Linked DNA regions of Homo sapiens: regions 1, 3 and 4 are each linked to region 2. The links are contacts of gene promoters, found by promoter capture Hi-C in blood cells and fetal thymus (Javierre and others, 2016). All regions are on one chromosome and are shown on one strand. Each heading gives the region's core, a stretch centred on a gene start or on the middle of the fragment in contact. The rest is flanking DNA. Distances are from core to core; before and after follow the strand shown.

The links. The method cuts DNA at HindIII sites, captures the fragments that hold promoters and counts their contacts. A CHiCAGO score of 5 or more calls a contact.
Region 1: a fragment that was not itself captured here is called in contact with the fragment with the promoter of PIGY in region 2 in 3 of 17 cell types (total CD8 T cells, naive CD4 T cells and activated CD4 T cells); the score reaches 5.4 in total CD8 T cells.
Region 3: a contact is called between a fragment that was not itself captured here and the fragment with the promoter of PIGY in region 2, in 1 of 17 cell types (naive CD4 T cells). The highest score is 5.9, in naive CD4 T cells.
Region 4: a contact is called between a fragment that was not itself captured here and the fragment with the promoter of PIGY in region 2, in 1 of 17 cell types (non-activated CD4 T cells). The highest score is 5.1, in non-activated CD4 T cells.

The regions. Positions count from the first base shown.
Region 1 is chr4:88,287,266-88,289,965 of GRCh38, reverse strand. The region is part of intron 1 of PPM1K-DT (PPM1K divergent transcript); the gene reads right to left. Among named protein-coding and RNA genes, the nearest start is that of PPM1K-DT, 3.7 kb to the right of the region's middle. The HindIII fragment of the contact is 1,173 bases long and covers 855-2,027 here.
Region 2 is chr4:88,522,332-88,525,031 of GRCh38, reverse strand. PIGY (phosphatidylinositol glycan anchor biosynthesis class Y) reads left to right here and starts at 1,256. Exons shown (of 2, transcript NM_001042616.3): 1 at 1,256-1,534. It overlaps PYURF (PIGY upstream open reading frame), which reads left to right and starts at 1,256. Exons shown (of 2, transcript NM_032906.5): 1 at 1,256-1,534. The coding sequence starts at 1,332. It overlaps PIGY-DT (PIGY divergent transcript), which reads right to left and starts at 1,222. Exons shown (of 2, transcript NR_134663.1): 1 at 1,100-1,222; 2 at 41-267. It also overlaps a transcript of HERC3 not described here. RefSeq lists an enhancer at 1,899-1,958. The HindIII fragment of the contact is 19,176 bases long and covers 1-2,700 here.
Region 3 is chr4:88,672,045-88,674,744 of GRCh38, reverse strand. The region is part of intron 16 of HERC3 (HECT and RLD domain containing E3 ubiquitin protein ligase 3); the gene reads right to left. Among named protein-coding and RNA genes, the nearest start is that of NAP1L5, 24 kb to the left of the region's middle. The HindIII fragment of the contact is 6,373 bases long and covers 1-2,700 here.
Region 4 is chr4:88,746,267-88,748,966 of GRCh38, reverse strand. It overlaps FAM13A (family with sequence similarity 13 member A), which reads left to right. Exons shown (of 24, transcript NM_014883.4): 17 at 1-15; 18 at 1,116-1,336; 19 at 1,952-2,035. Among named protein-coding and RNA genes, the nearest start is that of FAM13A-AS1, 38 kb to the right of the region's middle. The HindIII fragment of the contact is 1,604 bases long and covers 588-2,191 here.

The sequences.
Region 1 (2,700 bases), core at 192-2,691, 240 kb after region 2:
AGTAACAAACTACATCAAAGGTTTGTTTCTTGTTCATGTTCCATGGCTATCATAGGCTTGCAGTGGAATTCTCTTCCTTGGAGTCATTCAGGGAGCAGCCATTCTCTGGAACATTGCTGGTTGCAATGGCAGAGGTGAGTGAACCTTGGAGGGTCTTGCACAGGGATACGAAATGCTCACTCAAAAATTACCCCATCACCTCCACTCACAATTCATTGACCAGGACAAGTCACAGATGCCTGCCTTCGCCTGGCACTACTGGCTTGGGTGATGAAGAACAGTAAACATTTAGCAAACAATGCTAATAATGACTATCATATTTCGCTTCCTTGATTTTGAGCATTTTGTGATTTAAATAAAACACAATTTTGTATAACCTTTCTTACAAAATACATTTACAAAATATGATTGTTCTCACAACAGCTCTGATGGGAAACATGCAATTAAAGGCTTGAATAAGGGTCAAATAGAATGAATAATAGTCAAATAATCGGAGGTGGAAATGGAAAGACATTTCAAATCTCTGTAGCATTGGTACTGGTCGAAGTTTTTTTTTTTTTTTTTTGAGGCAGAATCTTGCTCTTTTGTTCAGGCTGGAGCGCAGTGGCATGATCTTGGCTCGCTGCAACCTCTGCCTCCCAGGTTCAAGTGATTCTCCTGCCTCATCCTCCCGAGTAGCTGGGATTACAGGTGCACGCCACCACACCCAGCTAATTTTTGTATTTTTAGTAGAGACGGCATTTTGCCATGTTGGTCAGGCTGGTCTCGAACTCCTGACCTCAAATGATCCACCCTTCTCGGCCTCCCAGAGTGCTGGGATTACAGACATGAGCCACTGCGCCTGGCCTGAAGCTTATTTATTCCAAATTTTTAGAGGTAAATTATACAGGGTGGGGGAAGCAACAATCATATTTTAAAATAAAATCATTGCTGCAAGTTTAATTGCATCCAAGGACAAGATTTCAAATTCTCTCTCTCTCTTTTCTTTTCTTTTTTTTTTTTAAAGAGACAAGGTCTTGCTTTGTTGCCCAGGCTGGAGTGCAGTGGCATGTTCATAGCTCACTGCAACCCCAAACGCCTGGGATCAAGTAATCCTTCCACCTCAGCCTCTCAAGTAGTTGGGACTACAGGCATACATCACCATGTCTGGCTAATCTTTTTTTTTTTTTTTGTAGAACAGGGGTCTCACTATCTTGCCCAGGCTGGTCTCGAATTCCTGGCCTCAAGCTGTCTTCCTGCCTTGGCCTCCAAAAGTGGTGGGATTACAGGGATGAGCCACTGCAACAGACCTAAAAATTCTCTATGTCAGTGTTTTGGCAATTATCTTGGTAACACAGAGAAGGGACATCTGGGCTAGCAATTCAGGACAGAGCAGCCTGAACTGTGGAAAAAATACATCCTAGTATCCCAGGCCCATGTTTTAGGCATGAGGCCAAGAGTAGCCTACAGATACTTTTCTAGAAAACTGCTGATTCTGAGTATACAAAAATGTCCATATCTAATTTTAACAACAAATGATTCATTAGTGAATATTAATAATTCTGCAATTATACATACCACCCACCCACCCAAAGCCCTGTGAATTGTTTTGGGTGTAATTTTCTGATAGCCAGTGGTTTTCAGCAGATGGTCCAATTCTTTAAAATATAAACTGAGCTGGGCACAATGGTGCATGCCTGTAGTCCTAGCTACTCCAGTGAGGCGGGAGAATCATTTGAGCCCAGGAATTCAAGGCTATAGTGCACTATTATCACATTTGTGAATAGTCCCTGCAATCCAGCCTGGGAAACACAGGGAGACCCTGTCTCTAAAAAAAAATAAGTAAATAAAATAAAATATAAACTGAATAAAGAAGTAGCTCAACTTAATGAATGTACGGAGTGCCATATCCCCTTGATTATTTTGTACATTGTGCAGTGATCTGTCATGCCAAGTCAGCCTCTGTGGTGAATTCTTTTCCATTTTTTAATTTTTTGTCAAATACCAAATAATGATTTCCTTTACACATTATTCACATTTTAAAAGCTTTTATTTTAGGTTCTGGGGTACATGAACAGGTTTCTTATACAGATAAACTGCATTTCATGGGGGTTTGGTGTACCAATAATTGTGCATTTTATTTTATTTTTTTGAGACGGAGTCTTGCTCTGTCGCCCAGGCTGGAGTGCAGTGGCGCGATCTCGGCTCACTGCAAGCTCCGCCTCCCGGGTTCACGCCATTCTCCTGCCTCAGCCTCCCAAGTAGCTGGGACTACAGGCGCCCGCCACCACGCCGGCTAATTTTTTGTATTTTTAGTGGAGACGGGGTTTCACCGTGTTAGCCAGGATGGTCTTGATCTCCTAACCTTGTGATCCACCCGCCTCGGCCTCCCAAAGTGCTGTCACCTAGGCTAGAGTACAGTGGTGAGATCATGGTTCACTGCAGCCTGGACCTCCTGGGCTCAGGTGATCCTCCCACCTCAGCCTCCCGAGTAGCTGGGATCACAGGTATGCGCCACCATGCCTGGCTCATTTTTGTATTTTTTTGTAGAGACCATGGTTTTGACATGTTGCTCAGGCTAGTCTTGAACTCCCAGCTCAAGTGATTGGCAGCCTTGGCCTCTCAAAGTGCTGGGATTACAGGCATGAACCACTGTGCTGGCCATGAATTATTTTTGTGGTGTATTTAGCTATGCTTCAGAGATTCAAAACCCAGAAGCAT
Region 2 (2,700 bases), core at 7-2,506:
TTTTAAAAAAAACAGGATGGCCCAAAAAACAAACAAAAAATTAGGATGAACATATAAACATTTGTCAGTTTATTTTTACATTGGAGTGGAAGAGAAATTTGAAAATATAAACATATTTTTGGATTCTGTACTTCCAGCTCCAGGAACTCAAAGTGTGAAATGATAATGCCCAGTGATGCAAAAAAAAAGTTCAGGTTGATATTCAGCAGAACGGAGGGAAAAAATGGATGACTAATGAGAATCTTTGAGTCTTCGGACATGGAAAAACTAGATGAACTAAAAATAAAAATAGACAACATTAATGGAGCATTAATTTGTGCCAGGCACTTTTCTAAATGTTCTTCGAATGCACAATCACATTTATGCCCTACCTACAAGGTAGGTACAATTATTAGTCTTATACAGATAAGGAAAATGAGCAGTTAAGTCATTTGCCAAAGTCATCCAGCTACTAATTGTGGACAGGGAACCAAGCTGTCAGGCCCCAGAGCCCAAGTTCCCATCTACTACACTGTAAGAAAGAGATCTAACATGGTCACTTTCTTGGAGAGTGGGAAGCAAACCTGGGATACAAATTCACTGAATGGATCACCCACTCATTGAATGGATCTTTAACAGGCAGATCACATCTGCCTGTTACACAGCTATTTAGGCCCCTTGCGGCCTCCAAGCTCATTTATAGAAGTAAATTAGCTGTGCTTTATTACGCAAATACTTCACAATGACTGGGTCTCAGGCAGGAAGAATTTATATATTTTGGAGGGTCAGAGGCCTAGGCCCTTCCTTCCAGGTTCTCACTTTTTTTAATGAGAGAGAAAAAAGCCAAACAAGGTTACAGAAACTAATGGTATAGTAAAGATGTACATGAAACAAATGAGCGCTTTCAATACATCCATGACAATACATTCGGTACAATACATAACAGTGTGTTTGAAACTTCACTTGGAGGTAACCACGTAGGTCCAAGCCTAACTCCCTACAACTCTGAGGCCTGGCCACTGGCTTCCTAGCATCCTTGGACAGGCCCCGGTGAAAACCCAGACACCTTGACTTAAACACTGGTTTAGTTTGTAGTCTGGTAAGGCGGCGGGGCACTCACCAGAGGCCTCTGCCCTGGGGCTGTCCTCCGGACTATAGATGACGCCCGTGGGAAAAGCAGTCGGAGCAGAAGCACCCTCGGAACCAAAGCGCCCGCCCCGCCTACTCCTCGGCAGCGTTTCCTGGAGGACCAGGGGGCGGGGCCTGCCCGGCTGGCCTGGACGAACGGGAAGCCGGGAGCTCGGCCACGGGTGGCGAGGCTGCGGTGAGGCCTGGTCTCCGGCTGCCAGACCATGCTGAGTGGAGCACGCTGCAGGCTCGCCTCAGCGCTGCGGGGAACGCGCGCGCCGCCGTCCGCGGTCGCCCGTAGGTGCCTGCACGCGTCGGGGTCGCGGCCTTTGGCCGACCGGGGCAAGAAGACTGAGGAGCCGCCCCGCGACTTCGATCCGGCGCTGCTGGAGTTCCTGGTGTGCCCGCTCTCCAAGAAGCCGCTCAGGTAACTCGCTGGCCTTGGCCCTTCCTTTGCAGCCTCCCGGTGGGCGGAAAGGGAGCGGTGGACCGCGGCCTCTTGCAGCCACTGGGGCCTTGTAGGTCGGTCAGGTACTCTCCGCTGCCACATTCTGGACTCTGTCCTCGCCGGGCGCACAGCGGGCAGGACGGGGGAGACCGGAGGCCAGGGGAGCTGCGTCCCACATCTCCCAGAACGCAACGCCAGCCTGCGGGAATGGCTCGAAGCGTTTTAGGGTTCGCGACCGGCTGCGCATTGCAATCACCCGGGGACCGTTTTAAAAATGCCGATTCCCCGACAGCCCCCAAGACGGGCAGACTTGGAATGCTCGCGGGATGGGACCTGAACATTTGTATTTTCTTTTCCTTTTTTTTTTTCCTTTTAAGAGACAGGGTGCCCCCTACGTTGCCCAGACTGGCCTAGAACTCCCGCCTCAGCCTCCTCAGGAGTCGAGAGACAGGCGCCGCCCCCACGCCCAGCTTATCTGTGTTCTTAAACGGTCCCTAAATGATTTCTAATGTACCACCAGGTTTATGAACCACTGCGATTCAGGACAAGTCCGAAGCCTTCCGGTTTTTAAGCCAAGATAATGAAAAGTATTGTTGTACCCTCCAGATTCTTGTGAAAGTGTCTTGTACAACTGGTGCCTGACAATCTTAAGCAATTCAGCTGTGTTTGCTGCCCAGTGGCTCTTAGTTGTGGCCTAGCAGGTTTCGTAGAAGCCTCTTTAACTAGTTTTTGGGAAGACAGCTCTACAGTTTCCAAGCTACCAAAATTGAATATTGACAACACTAACGCTAGTATTACAAATCGCATAAACACCAAAATGTTATCAGTGGTTATCTTTGAATGGTAGATTGCTAGCAATTTTTCGTATTTCTTTTTCCCGTAATAAACATATTATTCAATTTTCTCGAACCTTGAAATTATCATTTGATTTACGTTTATAACTAGCTCACTGCAGACTTAGTGCTTTCGAAAGTTTCTTCATTTCTGCCCTCTCACCTTTTCCAGTGATTTCCTTCTAATGGATTAGTTAAGTTTCTCTACTTAGCATTTATTCTAAAATGAAGAAGTTGATTTTTCTCTAGTGTTTATTCCAGTAGTAAATTAACAGGGATGGTTTGGGGGTTGACCAAAGTAATGAAGGAATA
Region 3 (2,700 bases), core at 31-2,530, 150 kb before region 2:
TGCCTACATATCCAATTACTTTGAAGTTAGAAATCAAGATGACTAAAAACAAAAAAACAAAACCACACCATAAAACAGCACTATACAAAGCTAAGTCATCTTCTAGTCTAGGTACCTACAAAAGATATAAGCATCCTGGGAAAGAAAGTAGGCTTAAAACTGGTGCCAATATTCAGAATTTCCTAATCTGTCTCTCAGAAGAGATTAGTTTATGCAAAGCATTATCTGCCTATTCTCAAGGGAAAAGAAAGATCTTGAATGTGTGTTGGTCTATAAAGCAAGATAAAGTTTTAGATATTTCAAATATAAAAGTGACTGTGGAAGAAGTGATAATAAAAACAGTTCTGGCATTACAGAGTCCGAGCCTACTTAGTATTTTTAAGTACATACTGACATTTTAGTTGGTGTAATGCAGTTATTTCAGACATCAATCAGCAGTTTTGTCTGTATTCCTTGGCTCTTTCCAGTCCCACTCCTGTTCTCTGACTCTCTCCCCCCACCCTCTTCCTGTAACCCCCACCTTGAGCCTCCCTGCACCCCTTAAATACCCAGCTTCGGCAGCTTGTAGTCCCTCTAAGCATCCCTCACCTGACCCCTTCCCACACCCCAGAGGTGAAGGAACCCAGATTTGGAAGCGGGCTGATCTTTCTACTGGAGAAGGGGAGGAGTTAAATTGAGGGCAGGGTCACCATTCTCTCTGTTGAGTGGGATGGCTGGGAAGAAATCCAAAACTGCCTCAGTTAGGAGCCACAGCCAAAGCCAGAGAGACACTGCCCAGAGCTGGTGGTCTAGAGAAGTCTCAGGTGAGCCAGCAAGGCAGGCAGGAAGATATGGAAGCCTTACAAAACAGAAGTGCCAACTCTAAGGAAGGCAAAGGATGGAGCGATATTCAGTCAAAAGAAGCCGCGAATCTGTAGCAAAGGTCTGCTTATACATCCACAGACTTTTTGTAAGTCTGTAAGTTTTTGTATTTGATATATAATAATTTAATTTCATTAATTTTTATTCTGTGAATACTGAATATTTTAGAAATTGTACTCACACTGGTATTTCCATATTATACAAAATAAATCTGCATGATTTTGTGCCACTATTGCTATTCATAACCTAGAAGGATGCATACGAACTGATAAGATACATGATTATCTCCTGAGAGGCTACTTGTCTTGGACTATCCATTCCTCAAAAATGAGTATCACAGACTTAAAACTAGTAAAGTACTAGTGGACCATATTTCAAGTCTCCCTGCCTGAAACGGGGCTGCACTGTGACCTAAGCTCATTTTTAAAGTATATGAAATAGAAGCAATGAATAAGTAAATGGGATAGAACAGAAAAATTGGGAATATCATTTTTTTTTAAATACGAAGTCAACATCTCCTAAATGTGGCTGCAAGTGGGGCAGGAGGCACTACACGCACACCTGCAGTGCTGGAGAAGAAATACAGCCTCCTCTGCCTTAGTGCCTGTCTTGTCTCACACGTGCACAATACTCATAACTGGGGACAAAACACTGCCTGGCTGCGTCTCCTTTAACACATACAGCAAGATGTCGAGCTTTATCTAGCTTTTATTTTTTAAGTATTTACACTGTGGCACTGACTTTCCCCACTTGTGCTGCCCTCTAGAGGAGCCCACCACTCATTCACTCTGTGCTATTTGGTTTTTAAGTGCAGATAATGGCAAGTTACTGATTGAAGTAAAGGAACCACTACCACCTCTTCTTTAAAAGGAGTAAAAATCAGCCACTTTAGAATGTTCCTTCTGCACACATGTGTTAGATCCCTTTGCAATTTTTCACTGCTGCTTCTGGGCTAAACACTCTGCAAAGGTAGACACCATATCCATACATGTTTCCACTGTGACTAGCAGGCAGATGGCACACATTAGGTACTCAAGAACTGCTTCGTGAAAAATATTTATTGAGGGCTTATTATATGCTAAGTACTCTGCTAAGCAAGGTCTTTCCATGCTTTCTCCCATTTAATTTCCACAATCTGTTATAATTCTTACTCACAAAAGAGGATGCTGGGCCTATAGAAATTAGGTAACTTGTCTAAGGCCATGGCCATTAGACCAGAGTAAGGAACTGAACCCAGGTCTTTTTGACTGGAGCATGTGCTCAATAATATACTACACAGCCTCAGCTATTAACAAGCTAAAAATGCCAACACACATCAAAAAAATCCATCTATTATTTAAAAGTAGTTAAACAAAAATAACATATGAAATAGCTTTAGTATTTTAAATTAAACTTCAAAATATCAAGACATTTAAAATTCAATTTCTAATAGCATTGTACCTCATACAATAAAAAAAATTCCACAAAAATCACAAAAGGCCATATACTAATTTCATGTAATTTTCCATATTTCTTTAATAACTATTATAGTTATTGAAGAGATGAGCATCTGTTATTCAAGATCTGATAAGATATTTATCAAATGTTAAAAGAAAGGAAGTTTAAAATATTGTAAAAGTTACTTAAATATCTCTACTCAGAGACTACTGTCATAATAATCTAGATTTTAACATGAGCAACTTCTTTTTCAGAGTAAAAAAGAATTACAATTTGTTAGACTTATTTTATTCAGCATCAAGTCACAGAAAGGGTAGATTAGAAATCAGAAGAATTGACTTTTACTGCTACTAATGAAATTAGTGGAAAAATTGTTTAACTTCCATTTCCTCATCTAGAAAC
Region 4 (2,700 bases), core at 140-2,639, 220 kb before region 2:
GGAGACAACTTAAAGGTGGGTAAAATTCTGGAGCTGTGGCTTCTGTACAACAAGCCAGGTGCAGAATCTCTCACCTCCTCTCCCACTGAGTGCCACTGCTAAGGCATTCCCCGGTCCTTAAAGATGCTTCCCAGCACTCTCAGCTATTCAGAGTGACCACTTCCCCAGGTCTTCACATGGTCTCAGTCACAGGGCAACCCGATCAGCTAAGAGGCGAATTCTGCAGCATTTCTTCATTTCCCTGGATCACTAATAGAAGGATGATGGTTTCAAGTCAGCATCTCTCAACACCTGTTTAATCCAAGTCTCCATTTGCTGTGGTGGTAGAAGCAAACAAGTAGACACAGAGATGAATCTGCAAAGGGTATGGCCTCCATCCCTCAAAGAGATTCCCATCTTTTCAGAGACACAGTCATGTAAACAACTAAATAGAATACAAAGTGAACCTAATTTCAGAATAAGGTGTGTAAGTCATACAGAAAAGGTTGGCCAGTGGCTGGGCATTAGATCACTAAATACCTTTAACCACTGAAGGAGCAAGGATGCCACATTCTGAGAGCATCATACAGGCTGATGTGGCTAAAGCTTTCTCAGCAATTAGTGTTAGGGAAACATTCCATGTAATCAAAGAAAATGTTACCATTCTCTCAGGTTTTACATAATAATTCAGGGATTTCTACTGATACTGTAACTAGATACTCTCTGAAAAAAGAATAAGTTATTGATACTACAGAAAAACAATTTGTGTTGGGCAGACATCAAATCTCATATATCAGGCCGGGCGCAGTGGCTCACGCCTGTAATCCCAGCACTTTGGGAGGCCGAGGCAGGAGGATCATGAGGTCAGGAGATCGAGACCATCCTGGCTAACATGGTGAAACCCCGTCTCTACTAAAAATACCAAAAAAAATTAGCCGGGCGTGGTGGCGGGCACCTGTAGTCCCAGCTACTCAGGAGACTGAGGCAGGAGAATGGCGTGAACCCAGGAGGCGGAGCTTGCAGTGAGCCGAGATCGTGCCACTGCACTCCAACCTGGGCGACAGAGCGAGACTCCATCTCAAAATAAATAAATAAATAAATCTCATATATCTTTACCCCCAAATCTTCTCAACTAGAATCAAAACTAAAGATATCTGAAGAGGACCTAACTCCCAGGATGCGGCAGCGAAGCAACACACTCCCCAAGAGTTTTGGTTCCCAACTTGAGAAAGAAGATGAGAAGAAGCAAGAGCTGGTGGATAAAGCAATAAAGCCCAGTGTTGAAGCCACATTGGAATCTATTCAGAGGAAGCTCCAGGAGAAGCGAGCGGAAAGCAGCCGCCCTGAGGACATTAAGGTGCGATCATTCTGTGAAGTGCTAAGCCCTAAGCCATTGCAGTCAATGTGGTAGAGACACAGGGCATGCCACGTGAATCCCAGTGGGAAGATGATGCCTTGTTAAGCCTTCCAGGCTGTTACGTGTCTAGGGAAGCTGATGAAACAGCTGCAGAGTGCGTTAACTGTGGGTGCTTTGGTTTTTGACTACAGATTGAAAACAAAACTCTATTGTATAGATTACAGAATGAACTTGTTTAGGTTAATAGCTGGTTTTGTGACTCTGAGGTAGAAGGATTAGAGACAAACCTTTGGGACCATGTAACGTATAACCGTCGTCATTGCTTGGGCCATTAAGCTAAGCCCCATGTGCCTCACAGCCCTGCTTACCTCAGTGTTCACCTTACCTTTGCTGCCGTGAGGGAGATCCAGGTGGCTGATGATGATTCTGCTGTGCTGGCCACGTTTCTCCCAAGAGCTCAGGAGTAACCCATTTTTAAATGAACTTTGGATAGAGCTAGGGAGAGCTGTTATATGAGGGTTCTTTTTAGCCTTGCTTTAGTAATTTAAGTAAAGAAGTTGGAATGTTCACACACATTTTCCTCTCTTTCAATTCTCTATCCCTGTGTTTATACAGGATATGACCAAAGACCAGATTGCTAATGAGAAAGTGGCTCTGCAGAAAGCTCTGTTATATTATGAAAGCATTCATGGACGGCCGGTATGTGATGTAGTAAATTTTCTGATTGGGGTCAATTATCTGGCTTTAGAAATGGATTTTCTATGTTCAGTATTTTACAAATGGGGTTCCCTAATGTTTGCTTGCTTTACTTTTAGGATAAAGGAGGTTAGTATATATTTACACCATAACTAAGCTTTCTGAAGGCTTAACCAATAAGAAAGTTCTATCTAGTAGATGTGGAACTTACTTGGGTTCCAATGAAAAATTGGTTTGCAACTAAAATTTAGTCATTAATGTACCGCTTTAAAGGAAGGAATGGTGGAGGGGCCAGGGGTCGGAGGGGCAGAGTATAGGGCATAAAGACCCCTGGAGTTTGGAGACTTCCCTGTCCCTAGGTCTCCCCCAATAAGCTGTCACTGTAGGCTTCCTCATCCATAAAATGAAAGGTGTGAAACTAGAATGATCTGCCTTAGAATTCAATCTCTCTGCAATGCAGTGCAACTAGTGTTTGTAAAGAAGTTCCAGCTGCCGTTCAGAACCAGAAGCGTGAGGAATCCAAAATATGGCTTTGCCTTTTCATAACAACGGGAAGCATTTGAGGTGGCTTGCCGTTCAGCAAGCATTGCTTAAATGTTTGTTGTTAGCTGTGGGGGAAACGGTAGCATGATAGGCTTCTGCTCTCTTCCCTGAAGAACTTTTCATCA